Regions from separate parts of the Homo sapiens genome. Here region 1 is linked to region 2. Evidence: promoter capture Hi-C in 16 types of primary human blood cells and fetal thymus (Javierre and others, 2016). All regions are on one chromosome and are shown on one strand. The core of a region is centred on a gene start or on the middle of the fragment in contact, and the rest is flanking DNA. Distances in the headings are between cores, read along the strand shown.

Region 1 (3,273 bases), core at 187-2,686, 270 kb after region 2:
GGAAAGGGAATGAGGGAAAAGGGAGAAGGTGAGGGAAAGGAAAGGAAGAGGAAGGGAAGTGGGGGATGGGAGAAGGAAAAAGGAGGAGAGTGGGAGGGAGGAGAATGAGGAAAAGGGAGAACCTGACACTGATGGAAGATAGTTGGAGAAGTTTTCAGATTAAACACAAACTGATTAAAAATGATCAACTTGGCTGGGCGCGGTGGCTCATGCCTGTAATCCCAGCACTTTGGGAGGCTGAGGCGGGCGGATCACCTGAGGTCGGGAGTTCGAGACCAGCCTGACTAGCATGGAGAAGGAGAAACCCTGTCTCTACTAAAAATACAAAATTAGCAGGTTGTGATGGCGCATGCCTATAATCCCAGCTACTTGGGAGGCTGAGGCAGGAGAATCGCTTAAACCCAGGAGGCGGAGGTTGCAGTGAGCCAAGATCACGCCATTGTACTCCAGCCTGGGCAACAAGAGTGAAACTCTGTCTCAAAAAAAAAAAAAAAAAAAAAGAAAGAAAGAAAAAAAATGGTTGAGTTGCCTCCCTTCCCCTCTGTGAAAAACTGTCTCAGTAGGAACTTTGCAAGTGTTTATCCACATTAAAAAACTGCACTGAGCTTTTCACCTATCAGGCAAGGATGGTGTTAAGAATACAAAGGTGATGATAGTCTCTCCTACTCCTTCAAATCCTTCAAAAGAGGATCGTTGACACCTGATATTAATTTAACAATGAACAATTAACTGATTCAACTGCATGATCTCATGTGAACCCGTGACTCAAATGTTATCATTTGTTATCGATCTGAGCCCGTGAGAGCCAATGTTATCAACTCTTTTAGAGAAGAGAAGACTGAGGATGACCACACAGCTAAGGCCACACTGCCGATATTCCATCACTAGTTTTTATTATTTTTCCTTCCCCACACCGAAGATGATTGTCTTTTCCTTGAAACCGGCAGATTGGAAACACAGAGATCATGTTTGTAAATGTGGATGGCACAGAGCTAGGTAGCAGAGCTAATCTGGTTGGACACACCTGAGGTACATAGTTATCCTGCTGGCTGGGATTCTGACCCAAAGCAAGAAGAAATTGAATGGAAGCAAATGTTAAAGTTTCAGTGAGACACAAGTCCAGGGTGGGAAAGACCTGGAGGACATGGGGAACCAAGAGATTTATTGACCACCAGTATGATGTGGCCGCATTTATAGAGGTTCGATGTTCCAAACACCGAGTAACATCTCCATTGTACTTTATACTAGCCAACCTAGCATATCCAGAGCAACTGTGTTCAGTTTTAGATGCTGAAAACTGGGAAGGACATTGACAAAAAGGGGCATTCGGGGAGTCATGACCGGCAAATGATAGGGTGAGAAAAATATATGAGGAACAGCTAATGCAGTTATAGGTGAACAAATTATGAAGATGGAAGACCAAGGGGCAGCATTGTAGCTACCTTCCATCATTTAAAAGGCCACAAAACAAGTAATAGGTTTACTGCATTTTGTTCCTTTGGTCAGAATTACGGAATCATTATGGTGCCTAGTTATTTCCTTCCATCCCTCCAAAGGGGATATTTCTTCCTGGAGTCCTTGAAATAAGTGGTGTTGCCCATGCGATGGCTCACGCCTGTAATCCCAGCACTTTGGGGGGCTGAGGTGGGCAGATCACAAGGTCAGGAGTTCGAGACCAGCCTGCCCAACATGGTGAAACCCCGTCTCTACTAAAAACACAAAAATTAGCCGGCCGTGTTGGCAGGCACTTGTAATTCCAGCTACTTGGGAGGCTGAGATGGGAGAATCGCTTGAACCCGAGAGGTGGAAGTTGCCATGAGCCCTGATTGTGTCACTGCACACCAGCCTGGGTGACAGAGCGAGACTCCGTCAGAAAAAAAAAAAAAAAATTAGCCAGGTGTGGTAACTCCTGCTTGTAATCCCAGCTACTAGGGAGGCTTAGACAGGAGAATTGCTGGAACTCAGGAAGTGCAGGCTGTAGCGAGCCAAGATCACAACACGGCACTCCAGCCTGAGCAACAGACCGAAACTTCTCAAAGAAAAAAAAATGGTGTTGGTACAAAGACCAAGGTGACAACCTGAGCTGCGGGCGTCAGTCAAGGGGGGCCGGATATTGAGCATCTACTTCCTTCCCAGTCTGTGGGTTAGTTTTAGAGGAGGAGAAAGATGGGGAAAAGGAGTGAGGGAAAAGGGAGAAGTTGAGGGAAAGGAAGGAAAGGGCTTATGCCATTTGGGCTTAATATGTTGACTGACTCTGTAACAGCGCTGTCTGATAAGAGAAAGAGCTCTACTGTTTAGTGAGTTTTCCATTACTGGAGTCATTCAAATGAGAGTGTGTGAGTAGCTGTAAAGGGGTCCTTATATGTGGATGTTAAACCCAATATTTAATGTCTTTTCTAACTATAATATTCTATGAACTACTAATAATTATGAGTGCTCAGTATATTCAAGGCCCTGTCTTAGTTGAATGTGATGCGAAATATAAAATACAAGTGTAAAATACTGTCGGTGTATTTTGTCACCATCAGTGAGCGCTTACACAATTTATACAAAAGGTCTAGTTTTGTGCCATTGTGTGTGTGGTTTTTGTGTGTGTGTGCCTCAGCTGGAGTGCAGTGGCACGATCTGGGCTCACTGCAACTTCTGCCTCCTGGGTTCAAGTGCCTCAGCCTTCCAAGTAGCTGGGATTACAGATGCACACCACCACACCCAGCTCATTTTTGTGTTTTTAGTAGAGACGGAGTTTCACCGTGTTGGCCTGGCTGGCATGGAACTCCTGACCTCAGGTGATCGGCCCACCGCAGCCTCCCAAAGTGCTGGGATTACAGGTGTGAGCCACCATGCCCGGCCATAGTTTTGTTCCATTATTAACATGACTTTTCAAGATTGTTGAAGGGACTTTTCAAGATTGTTGAAGCGCTTTTTCAAAGAACTGAAAAGAACTGGCCCATCCAACTACAGCATTTCTTTCCTTTCTGTTGCTCTTTTAATCCACAAGGGGGCAGAATTTACTTAGGGAGGATTAGCCAGGCCTCACCTTTAAGGTAGTTATTCTTAGTAACAAGGATTCTAATGGACAAAGAATGACAGACTACTTTGGATTTAAGCTTATAAGCACTTTGCTGCCATTTGTGGTTATGTGCTAAATTTCCAACCACGTGCATTGAATGTTCAAAGGCCCATGGAAAAAATGAAAATCTTAGAAAATACGGTTAGGCATTTGAGAGGAACTTTTCCCAGGAAATAGAAACGTACACTACTTTAATAACTTAA
Region 2 (3,218 bases), core at 435-2,934:
ACCCAGATTGCAGTACAGTAGTGTGATCACGGCTCACCGCAGCCTCAACCTCCTGCATTCAAGCAACCCTTCCACCTCAGCCTCCCAAGTATCTGGGACTACAGGCATGCACCACCATGCTCAGCTAATTTTTGTATTTTTTGTAGAGATGGGGGTCTCACTATGTTGCCCAGGTTGGTCTTGAACTCCTGGCTTCAGATGATCCTCACACCTCAGCCTCCCAAAATGCTAAGATTACAGGCATGAGCCACTGTGCCCAGCCAACAAAATATTTGGAAGACATTTTTGATGAGTAAGACTTTTCCTACCCAAACTTCATCAAATTTATCAGAGTATTAACACTAATTTCAATTAGAGCCAGTAAGTAGTGTTTCCTTTTCATTTTCCAAGCATTGCAGACTGATCTCTGTTTTCTAAACATAAACTTACTAATATTTTACTGTGTGCTCCTGGAAAAACTACATTAAATCTATCTCAATTTGTCCAATTAATGAAAATTAAATACCAGAACTGTTCATATGTACATTGTCTCCCCCACTAGATTATATTCTCCTGAAAAACAAGGAATTTATGTTTTTTATTTGAGCATGTCTCAAAGTAGTGCATACTAGATGCTGTACAGGTGACAAGATGAATGGGTGGATAGAAGGATGGATGGATGGATGGATGGATGGATGGATGGACGGACGGACATATGTATAGATAGATGGGTGGGTAAATGGATGAATGAGTGGGTGAATGGATGAATGCGTGGGTGGATAGATAGATGGGTGGTTGGGTGGATGGATGAGTATTTGCATGTATAGATAGATGGGTGGGTGAATGAATAGGTCATGGACGGATGGATGGATGGATAGATGGATGGGTGAATGGATGGATGGGTGGATAAATGGATGGATGGATGGATGGATGGATGGATGGATGGATGGATGGATGGATGGATAGATGGATAGATGGATGGATAAATAGATGGATGGCTGGCTGGCTGGATGGATGGAGAGATGGATGGATGTGTGGATGAATAGATGGATGGATGGGTGGATGGGGAATGAGTGGGCAGGTAATACATGAGTGAGTGGGTGGATGGAAGGATAAATGGATGGGTGGATGGATGTGTGGGTGGATGGATGGAAGGATGGATGGATGGATAGGTGGATGAATAGATTTGTATTTGTGAGTGGGTGGATGAAAAGATGGGTGGATGGGTGGGTGGACAGATATATAGATTTCAAAAATGAGTATATCTATATGAATGAATGAATTCCTCCCCGACAACAATTATAAATTGATGTCAGCATAGAAATAAAATATTCCCAAAGGTTGAGCAAAAATTATCTAATTGTATTTATCTAATAAACTAGAAAAGTAAAAATAAGGATGACGTCACTACACAGGGACATTTTACAGTATTTCTCCCACCCATGCTCCCTCTAAAAACCTTGCAACTAGTTGATTTACCAGTACTACCCACTTGTGGTAAAACAATTTTTGTCACCAACACATCACTCACACCTCTCTGCCATCAAGATAATACATGTGGTCCCCAAAATGTTCCACCAGGAGGTGTTCTGGGGGCAGCTAACTAAGAGGGGGCTTCCAGACAGATGGAGGAGTTGATACACATGAGGTCACAGATCTACTGCCTCTCCCCCTTTAAAAGAAACTACTCAGCTCCATTTGTCTCAGAATCTAGAGGAAGTTGACAAAGGTGCCACAGCAGCACAGCACAGTATGTGGTGGAGAGTTCTCAGCTTGCTGGCATGGTTCCCCTTGCAAGGTAAGGACTTAGAGTTATTTTTGTTGTTGCTCAGCTGACTTAATGTTTTGCCACATCTACCTATCAGTCAGTCAACTGCATTTACAGAGGAGCTGCTGTAGAAGACAACCCAGGTAACTGCTAATACTTTCCAAGCCATGCTCAAATCATGCATCTGAGGGATGTTACTGCGTTTATTTGATCTCTCGTTCAATGGCTAAGGAGTATAGAAAGGATCATTATAGTGTGTGTCTCTGTGGGTCCTATGTTACGGCAAGATGAAACAAGCTTATTAGGCTCTGTCTTTTAAGGGCATACCAGTTGAAAGAGCATCCGTATTGAATTTTATTTTATTTTATTTATTTATTTATTTATGAGACACAGTCTCGCTCTGTCGCCCAGGCTGGAGTGCAGCGGCACGACCTCGGCTCACTGCAAGCTCCGCCTCCCGGGTTCACGCCTTTCTCCTGCCTCAGCCTCCCAAGTAGCTGGGACTACAGGTGCCCGCCACCACCACGCCCGGCTAATTTTTTTATATTTTTAGTAGAGACGGGGTTTCACCGTGTTAGCCAGGATGGTCTCAATCTCCTGACCTCGTGATCTGCCCACCTCAGCCTCCCAAAGTGCTGGGATTACAGGCGTAAGCCACCGCGCCCGGCCTCCACGTTGAATTTTAAAATTTCCTTGCTGTATAAATCTTAGCCAAACGATTTAATCTCTTTGAAACTCAGTTTCTGCATCTTAAAATGAAAATGATAAAAACTTTTGATCCACCAAACTCCCTGGATTGTTAGAAGGATCAAATTTCAAATGTGAAAGCACTTTGAAAATGATAAAGCGCTGTGCAACACTTATTTAGCTCAGAGGTAATAATGAGACCAATGAAAACTTCGTGTTTATTTTTAAAGAGTAAGTTATACTTTACATTTTACTATAATTTTCAAATTTGGATTTTAGTGCTTAATCCTAATGTAGCATTATGAAAATTAAGGATAGAAGCAGTTACCTTTTTGGAGCAGGTCAAATTATTTTCTACCCAAAAGTGGGGGCAGGGGTGTAGGAAGTGGCTCCTGTTGTCCCTCAGTCTCTGCTTACAATTGTATCAGATTCATGCAAAGGACATCCCTCACAAATCCACTCAAAAATTTTGCTTTTTGTGTGTTTGTTACCAAATATTGAAACTGTAGTTCTGTTTCATGAAATGCACCTATCCTTCTAAATCTACATTTAATCTGGAATGGCATCTGAAGGACGCTACTTTAAAAAACTCGATTTCCTATTTTACATAGTACTTCAATTCCCTATTTTATATACTTCAATTAATGCCTTCTTTTTTTGGTCCCTGTACCCTGAGGCACTTAATAAGGATTCAATTTTGGTAATGAATAATATTAGTTTCTTCATTAAGTGGCTTAAAGAATAGCTAATACATTCAAAAAGAGTACATTTAGACAGCTAAAAT

What was found. The method cuts DNA at HindIII sites, captures the fragments that hold promoters and counts their contacts. A CHiCAGO score of 5 or more calls a contact.
Region 1: a contact is called between a fragment that was not itself captured here and the fragment with the promoter of CRTAM in region 2, in 1 of 17 cell types (naive CD8 T cells). The highest score is 5.0, in naive CD8 T cells.

The regions. Positions count from the first base shown.
Region 1 is chr11:123,108,581-123,111,853 of GRCh38, forward strand. The region is part of intron 1 of CLMP (CXADR like cell adhesion molecule); the gene reads right to left. Among named protein-coding and RNA genes, the nearest start is that of HSPA8, 48 kb to the left of the region's middle. The HindIII fragment of the contact is 3,337 bases long and covers 1-3,105 here.
Region 2 is chr11:122,836,816-122,840,033 of GRCh38, forward strand. CRTAM (cytotoxic and regulatory T cell molecule) reads left to right here and starts at 1,685. Exons shown (of 10, transcript NM_019604.4): 1 at 1,685-1,777. The coding sequence starts at 1,732. The HindIII fragment of the contact is 4,925 bases long and covers 1-2,042 here.